Regions from separate parts of the Homo sapiens genome. Here region 2 is linked to region 1. The links are contacts of gene promoters, found by promoter capture Hi-C in blood cells and fetal thymus (Javierre and others, 2016). All regions are on one chromosome and are shown on one strand. Each heading gives the region's core, a stretch centred on a gene start or on the middle of the fragment in contact. The rest is flanking DNA. Distances are from core to core; before and after follow the strand shown.

The links. The method cuts DNA at HindIII sites, captures the fragments that hold promoters and counts their contacts. A CHiCAGO score of 5 or more calls a contact.
Region 2: the fragment with the promoter of HMGN3-AS1 here is called in contact with the fragment with the promoter of CYB5R4 in region 1 in 1 of 17 cell types (fetal thymus); the score reaches 7.8 in fetal thymus.

The regions. Positions count from the first base shown.
Region 1 is chr6:83,858,303-83,863,107 of GRCh38, reverse strand. It overlaps CYB5R4 (cytochrome b5 reductase 4), which reads right to left and starts at 3,419. Exons shown (of 16, transcript NM_016230.4): 1 at 3,251-3,419. The coding sequence starts at 3,325. The region is part of intron 3 of RIPPLY2-CYB5R4 (RIPPLY2-CYB5R4 readthrough); the gene reads right to left. RefSeq lists a silencer at 3,299-3,348. The HindIII fragment of the contact is 3,476 bases long and covers 2,214-4,805 here.
Region 2 is chr6:79,231,134-79,236,238 of GRCh38, reverse strand. It overlaps HMGN3-AS1 (HMGN3 antisense RNA 1), which reads right to left and starts at 2,565. Exons shown (of 2, transcript NR_040671.1): 1 at 2,312-2,565; 2 at 1-2,177. It overlaps HMGN3 (high mobility group nucleosomal binding domain 3), which reads left to right and starts at 1,557. Exons shown (of 7, transcript NM_001201363.2): 1 at 1,557-1,693. The coding sequence starts at 1,679. RefSeq lists enhancers at 1,439-2,228, 2,229-3,019 and a silencer at 2,232-2,281. The HindIII fragment of the contact is 3,424 bases long and covers 1-2,861 here.

The DNA of each region.
Region 1 (4,805 bases), core at 2,170-4,669:
GTACTTTGACCAGAACATTTTCAAGATATCTCTATGGAACTAAGCTTGTCTGACTAATTTGTAACGTAGTAACAGAAGAATGTTTAATGTAAAAGCAGACACATTCAAGGATGTTTACATATCTCACTTTCCTGAATCATATCTATTTTAGACATCCATTTACTCCCAAAGTAACCAAGTTAATAGGTCTGTGGTGCCTTTCACATTCTATCCTATCAATCTACATCATTCCATTCTGGCTATCACTGAAACTCTAGGTCTCTTGATCCCAATAAATGAAGTGTGAGAAAATGACCTTTCCCATCCCAAACTAAAATCACTCACCTCTCTCCATTCCATAATCCACAGGATAGTTAAAGCAATCTTTCAGAAATGCAAATCTAATCACAGGCTCTCCCTCCTTCAGTGGCTCCTCAGGTCACCTTACAACAACGTCTCTAAATTCCCTAGGGATTTACCAGGTCTTCACAATCTGGTCACAGTTGACTGTACTAGCTCCATGTTCTAACTTTTGCTCCTTTCCATTATATACTTTAGCCAAATGGGAACTGATTATTTGATTCCTTTATTGCTGTCAAGTACTTGCTTATAGTAGTGTTGCTTTCCCTGCATGGATCAACCTCACTCCAACTCCCATTAATTCCTCTGGAAGGCTTCTCTGATCCTCAACTCCTTAGTGGTCATACCACCCTGTTGTAGTACTTATGACTTTATAACTGAATGTTCACTATTTCATGCAACCTATGAGACTAAACACCTTGAAATCAGAGACCAAAAACTCCAGCATATGGTAGGTTCTCAATAAGTATTTGTTTACCAGTATTAATAGAAATAATAACTATCATATGTTGAGTGCATATTCTGTGTCACACTCAAGTCTGTGAGATCTGAATAAAAGCCTCAGGACAAGTAGCATTTACTGGGTGCTTACCAAGGCTGTGCTAAGAGAAACATTATCTCATTGAATCCTATGAACAATCCTATAAAATGGGTACTGTTATTCTCATTTACATCTGAGGAAACAGACTCAAAGAGATTAACTGGCAGATATGGTGAAAGAATCTAGGTCTTTCTCACTTCAAAATCTGTGCCTTTAAAAAATTACAATAAGCCTTCACTTAAGCTAGTCACTAGGTGCTTGGAAACTAAACTATGTACAACGAAACTAATTTTACCGTGGGTTAATTGACAAACAAAATTTCCTGCAGCATATTTCTGGTCACAAAAACATCACCAGACTTCTAAATAAAGACCAAAATACTTCTAATATTAAACACTGAAAGAAATGTTAGCTATATATACATTTAAGAAAGATTAATTAAAAAACAAGTAAGATAATTATTTACCCAACTATTCCAGTTCAATGTCACAGGTAGTCAGAGCCTATCCCAGTAGCTCAGGGCACAAGGCAGGAACCGACCTTGGACAGGATGCCATCCTATGGCAAGGCACACTCATACACACCCAATATTCACACAGACTGGGACCATTTAGACACACCAATTAACCTAACTTGCATATCTTTGGGCTGTAGCAGGAAACCAGAGTACCCAGAGAAAACCCACGCAGACACAGAGCATGCAAACTCCAAAGACAGTGGCCCTGGCCAAAACGAATTTTTTTTCTCATCAATATTATAACTAAATGCTGTTGAATGAAACAACACTATTTGAGAACCTTTTGTATAATACACGACCTTCCCAACTTGGTTCTATTTTCTCAACCTCTACCCATTTCATCCAAACCTGACTCAGTTTTTACATTCTCAGCATCATCTTGTTTCACAAAGAAAAGAGGAAGAAGACTGGAGTCTGACTTTTCCTTAGAATTGCACAATAATCTTATTTTGTTCTCTTTTTGGACCAAAAACTCACCTTTGCCATCGCCCCCTGTGTGACTTTTTGTCTTTGCTTCTAAGTTTTCTCCTTTAAATGGATGCTAAGAACACAGTTGGTATTTTTAACGAAGAAGGGCAGTAACTCATATTCTAATTCAGAGATTCTTTCTGGAAAGACTGTTATTCAGTCAAGTATTTAGCTTCAAGAAATAGGTCAAAAACCAATGAGAAAAATATACATGATTGGATGGCTAGATGATTGATATATGAATCAGTAAATGAAATTTCACAGCAGAACCACAACACAAGCCTACGCAATTTAGGGCAATATTTCTTAGCCAGTTTCCTTTTCTGCGAAATAGAGACAATAAAAGCTTTCACTTCAAAGGATAATTGTGAAAATTAAAGTTAATACATGCAAAGCACTGAGAATATACACGGCCACCCGTAAGTACTTAAGAAATCTCTGGAAAGCTAATGAAAACCACAGATCCCTGAACCTATATTCATTCTGAACTAGAATCAGAACGCCAGGTCTAAGTGGAGAAAAATAAGAAAATCGATAAGGGTTCCAAACGATGCTAAGACTCAAGAGTTAACCGAGTGGCCCAAGTTAAGTGGAAGTGTCACAAACGAAAGATAAAGATATGGTTACAGAATGAGGAACTAACAAATAGGAACAAACAACATTCGCAAAAGAACAAAGAACACAATTTTTATTGAATTCTGCAAATATAAAATATATCTGTACAGTATTCCACCTGTTGCTAACAGCAACTGTGCTCAACAAGAACTCAAGAGTATTATTATATTTGCTTCGAAGTTAGCAAGTGATACTAGTAGAAAAGGCAATGACAAAACAATCAGGTACCAGAGGAAGAAAGAAAGGCAGTATGTCTTGGATAGTGTCTGTAAACCTGACCTAGCTCCCCAACTCCAGAAGTCCCCATCCTTGCACGGACGGTCACTGTCGCCACTGCCAAGCCTTTCCCTCCTGCGAGGGAACCCACATCGAGTGATGTGGTACAACTCCTTCAGGCAGTGAAGAACAAAAGACCAGGGAGAAGATGAGGTTGAGGGAAGGCGGCTAATACCGAGAGCCTATAATACCGCAAACACAGTGCCTGGCTCTGTCATATAAATTTAAATCGCGGGAAAGGACTTGGAGGAAGGGAACGGATAGAGCGGGATAAAGGACCAGAAAGAAGAGGGACTGCTAGGGGAAAGGGAGGAGGTAAGGAGAGTTTAGGGACTGTAGACAAAGTGGGATCAGAAAGAGGTTGCAGGCAAGGACAGCAGGGAACGACAGCTTAGAGAGGGGTGCAGGAGCTGGGAGTTGGGGCGGAAGAAGAGAACACACTGCCAGAGCTCGAAACGCAGCGAGGGGAGAGACTCACGGAGCCACCCGCTTACCTTGCTACGCCCCCCGGAGGCGACACGCTGCTGCGACCTGGGGGCCGGGAAAGACTGGGAAGGGACGTTCAGCATCTTCAAACCCCGGCCCCGGGCCCTGCCCGGGGATCGCCGCCAGACGGGACAGCACCTCCAGCTCCGGCTCTGTGGCCGGGCAGAGGCCAAGCCCCCGACCCACTTCCGGGGTCGCCAGGGGTGAGGCGCATTCTGACGCAGCACGTCCGCGGAGGGCGGAGCCAACGGGACGGAGGGAGGGCCGGCAGGGAGGAAGTACGCATGCTCAGCTAGTTCCGCATCCCGAACTTCAGCACCGGAGCAAGGTGACAGCTATTTCGTGGAAAGATTAGAGAGTGAAGCTGTTCCTTAGCCTTGGTGCTGACCGAATGTGGGAACAAATTCTTAGTCCTGTTAACCCGGAACAGCAATGTCTGTTCATTGTTAAGCAGTACCATCACACTACTTGAAATATGGACTAAAACACACTACTTGAAATATGGACTAAAACGAATTTTAGTTTCTCTGAAATTCTTTCCTGTAAGGCACTAGGCTGTAATGCAAAGAGCATCTCACACCTTTAAGAGCAAAAATATCAAATGTCAACAGCCACTACTGTGGGGTAAGAAGAAAACCTCACCTTTAATCATCCTTAAACTTCACCTTTAAGCATGCTGAGGGCTAATGAATGCGCGAAAGACGTTAGTAAAGTCACCTTCTGCTCTATTCACCCACTCACAAATTCTCCCTCCTTATGTAACTTCCTGTCTTCACTGGGAATTGTGTACTGATGCAGCTCACCTCCAGCTGTGGTGATGAAGTAACGTTTAAAAGTCAGATTTGGTTTGCATGCCATCCCTGCACTTAATGACTGAGCTGTCTTATGCAAGTTACTTTAGTATCTCAAAGTCTCATTTTCCCCATCTGCATAATGGGTTTATTAAAGATTAAAGGATCATGTGTAAACTACATACTGCAGTGCCTGATTAATATTAGGTACTGAATAAGTGGCAGTGGCTGTTTGTGCTATTCCAACATATTAATGGGAAAAGGACCAACACTGTGCAGGTAAACACCAGGCTCTAATGCTCAAAATCTGATGGTTTTTGTTTGTTTGATTGATTGTTTTGTGTGTCCCTTGGGGAACACATAGATCTTGAGAGTAGAATCCAATAAGGGAGAAAGTTTTCAGGAGAAGAAACATAGTTCTAAATAATCCTCCCCATCCTCCTTTAATTACTAATTTTTCCTAACTCTGAACATATTGTCATGCTTTAAACTTTCTCTGTTTAACTACTTAGTTCTTAAAGTGCCTAAAAAATCAAGGTTATGTTTGCAGAATCAGAAGAAAAAGTGTGTGACTATATGTGGCCATTCAAATACAAGCATTCAAATAAGGTAGCCACCTATGACATTCACCTCTATCCATTTTTATTTGCAATTGAAATGCTTATTATGAGAAGACTGAATTTGAGCTAAAAGAACCTCATGACTATAATTAACTGTATTACTTTGACTTTGCAAATTGCTTCTGTGTTCTCTCTCATTAAATGATGACATA
Region 2 (5,105 bases), core at 1,316-3,815, 4.6 Mb after region 1:
AATGATAGCAATACACTGATGCACACCAAATATGTAAAAATCCATGAGTTCATAAAGATGTTCCAAAAAAGAAAGTAATCAACCACCTCTGGAGAGTACTAGATCAATTAATGTATTCTGAAAATTACTAAAGAAAAAGTGAAATATTAAACTTCATTGCTTTTTTAATACATATTTAATACATGATATTTTTAATACATATTTGCAGCCTCTGTGTTACCAAAGTGGATTTGGCCATATTTGTAATGTAAGGCTTCAACACATTTTCCTATGATGTGAGCTTTGCCTGCTAAGATGATTCTGAAACTAACTTTGCCCAATTTTGCTTTTTCTATAATTTCATATGAATGCAATCATTCAGTGTGGTCTTTTGTATTTGACTTCTTTCGTACAGCACTTTGTTTTTGATATTCATCCATGTAGGAAAATTTTTTATTGTTTTTTATTGCTGAATAGTATTCCACTGCATGTGCTCATCACAATTTGCTTACCCATTCACTAGCGCTTTTCCTGCATCTGCTGAAAGGATTGTTTTTCCCCCTTTATTCTATTAATCCTGCCAATTACATTGATTGATTCTCAGATATTAAAAAAGCAGCTTTGCATTCCCAAGATAAGCCCCACAGGTCATGATGTATTGTCCCTTTAAATGTTGTTGAGTTTCATTTACTAAAATTTTGTTCACGACTTTTGTGTCTATGTTTATGAGTGATATTGGTCTGTAACTCTCTTTTGAAGTCTTTCACTGGTTTTGGTATCAGAGTAAATCTGGTCTCATAAAATGAATTCAGAAATATTTTTGCAATGCTCATTTTATGCCTTGCAGAACTTTGAGAAATATTACGCATAAAGTGTAACATGACGGGTGTCATTCAAATATATGTCTCAAATATAAAATAATCAGTTTTTGCCTTGTTCTTTCTTTTCCTAATTTCCGTAACAAACATGTCCTATTCGTCTTCACATCTAGTTTGAAGTTAGCTGAATTAGTGAGTGATTTATAATCACAGATTTCAGAAAATTAGAGCTAAGTGATTTTAGGGACTGTTGTCACTATATATCTAGGGGGGGAAACTGAGGCCTTTAGAAGTTGCCACGCTCTTCCAGTACAGAGTACCTTCCCACGCTTTACAGATTCCCACCATGTAACATTCATTAAAAGCCTTTATGGGTAGGAAATGAATAAGGTACCTGCTGTGTATATATTTACATTATAAAGTTTACGTATTCATTCTTACTCTTTTTCCTTCCTATGAAGACACACACTGTTCTTATTCTTACAATCTCAAAGAGAGAGCAGCGAAACAATGAAACTTCAGGATTGTGTGGCCTGGAGGCTACTAGTTGAACTGGGCATGCTCAGTCGCCAGGCAGATTTTTTTCGGTGAAGTGGAAACTACAACAGCGCGTACCGCGCGCGGAGGTGGGCGTGCCCTCGTGGAATTTAGAACGTTGCCTCAGCCAATGGGGCCTCGCGGCCGGCTGGCGGGGCTCCTCATTGGAGCAGCAGGGAGGCGAGCAGAGGGCCCCCAGAGGGAGCCGCGGAGGTGCAGGTCGAAGAGGCCGGGCTACGTCGTGCCCTGCGCGTGAGCAGCTGCAGAGGCAGAGGCAGCATCCAGCGGCGGCGCCAGCAGTTCCAGTCCGTTGCTTTACTTTTTGCTTCACCGACATAGTCATTATGCCGAAGAGAAAGGTAAGTCTTACCAAAAAAAGATTTCAAAAGCCTTCAAATTCTGCTTACAGTAAATGCTGGCATTGCAATGGCTCGCGCAGAACGCGCGCGGTAGTAACCCGGGGATTGGGAATCTTTGCTCCTCCACGCTTGTTTTTAGATGCCTGTTGCAGACGTTCCTCTCTCTGTCCCCCCTACCCACTCCGTCCTCATCGATCTCTTAATGTTACTTTCTCTCCAGTGACGCGGTTTCCCTTCTTTTTGAACTCATTCTCGCTGGAATGTTTTCCACCCCCAACAACAAGAAGCAAAAGCGGCTTTCCATTCCGAAAGGGAGTTTCCTCTTTGCAAACTGCCAGGTTGCGAATTAGTGTGAAGGGAAAACAGCGAGAGGAGAAAAACAAGTACAAGCGTAAGGAGAGGGAAGAAAATAAATCAGGCAAATGTTGGGATTATTCCCATGCGGCTGTACTCGCGGGCTGGGTGCGCTGCGGTGGCTCCTAGGCTAAGGGAAAGAGAAAGCCATGTTTAAAATAGCGCTCACCCTCCTGCTCGCCTCCGCTGCAGACCCGTATGTACCAACTCCAGTGTCAATCAGGGCTGGGGCCGGCGAGGCGGGGCCTGGCGGCCTGGACCTACCCGCAGTTCGGGGCGGGAGCGGTGGAGTTGGCAGCGTGGAAGACGGGACGGCGCCGGGGCGTCCAATATGGCTCGTCCAAGGTCAGGGGGCCACCAGGTCCTCCCCAGCGACTGGAACCCACACTCGGTTGGGGAAGGCGGGGTCCGCGCGCTATCCGCCCCTCTGCGCGTCTAGCGAACTGGAGTCATTTTTGTCTTGTCTTCCGCCCCTTGCGGACTGTCCTCTTCTGCGCAGGCCCCGGACACCAACTACTACATTCAGGGACACAAATCTCCCTCGGGGTGGGGCTTCGACTTGTCCCGGGGAGGGAAGGGAAAGGTTTCCTCCTCCCTGAGAAATCAGTGAGGATTTCTCAGCTGGTTCCTAAGCAAGTGCTTTGCACCCTCCCACCGCCAGCCTCAGTGTTTCCAACAGTGTCAACGAGTGTGGGTATTAAATTTGAAGCAAAATTACACCTAATGTCTTGCTTTATCAAAGACCATGGACTAATTTGTGTGTGAGAGTGACTGCATTATTTTAAAATACTGAAGTTTTAAAAATTCAAAAGCTTTCCCCTTCTTATATGTTATTACTAAAAATTGGGTAGAAACTTGTCTCCTACCCCACTTTTTAAAAATAATTGAAAGTGTTTAAAAGTCTTAGAGTTTGTTGTGCACATACTGTGTCCCTCACGCTGTGCAGAATTTGACTTGCATTATCTCATTTAATCCTGAAAACAGCTTGAGCGGTGTTACCCCCATTCAGCTGGGACTTAAAGACATAAATTGTCCTGCATCTCACCAACCAATAACTACTAGTAAAGATTTAATCAGATGCTATAGATGCCAAAGTCTTATTCTCACCCATTTCGTACTCACTTACGAAAGGGTGGGTCAAGAGGAATTAAGGAAATCCAAAGGTACTCCCAGTTTAAGAAGACAGATGGCATATTAAGAGCACTAATACTTGAGATTTATTATTTAAACTTAATTTTATGAAGGTATTTTCTAGCCCTGTTTTACTAGAATTAGGATATTAAGTGATGTCACCATTTTCAGCATTTTGACTGAGGGTTAATGATGGATTGGAAATTCTAGTAGAGACAAAGGAACTAATCATCAAGATACGGGTTACAGAGTAAGTGAGCTGGAGGCCATCTTTTTTTCCTGGGAATTATAACCATTGTTTACATAAACAGTAGGTTAGGTGTGCACACTTTATGTATAATGGACCCTGACGATGGAACCCTTCCTTGCTGTTTATTCAAGGGCCAGAGCTGCTGAAACCATTATTCTTACTTCCCCTGTCTGCCTCTCTCAAGGAGACGGAAGGAAAAAAAAAAAAAACTAAAATAACAGTAAAATTACAGCTACAGTTTTATTTCCCTGGAAGGCAGGGAACCCCCATGCATAAGCTAGCCAATGGTCCTGAGACTAGGGGCAAAACTGTGTACAGGCACCTGTGTGTCATTCCTGAGGACATCAGAGTGTTCTCCGGTGATGGAAAACCTCTCCTTGATTAATAGGAAGGCTTTCCATTTATACCTGAAGCCTAACGACCTCAGTTGGTACCTGGGCAGGAACAACCTCAGATTAAACACGGCGATCATGGCCATCCATCTATCAGTCAAGTCTTAGAGCAGCCTCATGGAATCCTGAAGTTCACTGGAACTTATGTGAGGAACCACTGTCATTAGGTAAAGCCTGCTTAGATACAAAAAAGAACTGGAGACAATCCATGCATAGCTCTTCAAGATCTTCAAAGCTGGGGTAACTGCCAAAGCATTTACATACTACACAATATTTTTCTTGACTAAAGAATTGTCTGCTCTACAATATAATAAGCTTTTAAAATGTCCCCCTAGTACTTTTTTGCCTTCTTAGCCCCCTGTATCAACCTTTCCTAGAAATCAAGAAATGTTATTTAATGAACATCTGAGTAAGTTGTTCTGCAGAGCAAGAAGTGGTACAGATAAAGTCAATGAAAACATCTGGAATCCTAGCCCTGTTGTAATGCTGTAGGGACATACAGTTTTTGCCCTCTTGGAACTTGTGTTTAATTCAATGAGGTGATAAGACTAGCAGCACAAAACAGTTGAATAACATTAAAACTGTGTATGTGTTCCAGAATGTGTAGTTATAGATCCCACAAGCAGTAGGACAGATAAGGAAAGTTAACTTTAGGCTGGTCTTAAAAGTGTGGGTAGGACTCAAATATACAAAGAAGTCAGAGTCATTTTTTGTTACCAGGTATTCAAGTGTGTCTCCTGATTGTATCTTAACATGACCAGGCCTCAGTTTTGCAACTTCAGGGCTATAATATCATCTGAATTAATATTAAAATGTTCTGATGACATTTCTTTGTAAGTTTTATGTGTATCTTTGTGTGTGATAGTCATAACTACATTAAGCCAAGTGGTTTTTTATAAATGCCATAGTATTTTGTGAAGTAATACAGCACTTAGTGAAGAGTTCTTCAGTGCATATTATCTCTAAGTTTGTGAGATGTAAATAAAAGTGAGTTTCCTGTATTTTTTAGATAATGGATGGTGGGTGAGTGGAATTACAGGGGAAATGATAACATTCATGGACTCAGTGGTGAGACAATGAGTGATTGAGTTCTAGACTGTTCTGGCCAGACATCCACAAATGCCCGCAGTGGTCATGTTGTTATGTGATGATTTGATGTTCTACGAAGAGACATGAGCCAGCGAGGCCTAGAGTCACAGTCCTGGCATGATTAGCGACAGGAAACACATTTTTACCTCTTTCTTTTTATTAATATTTTCCAGTTCCTTATCACTAGAACTATTTT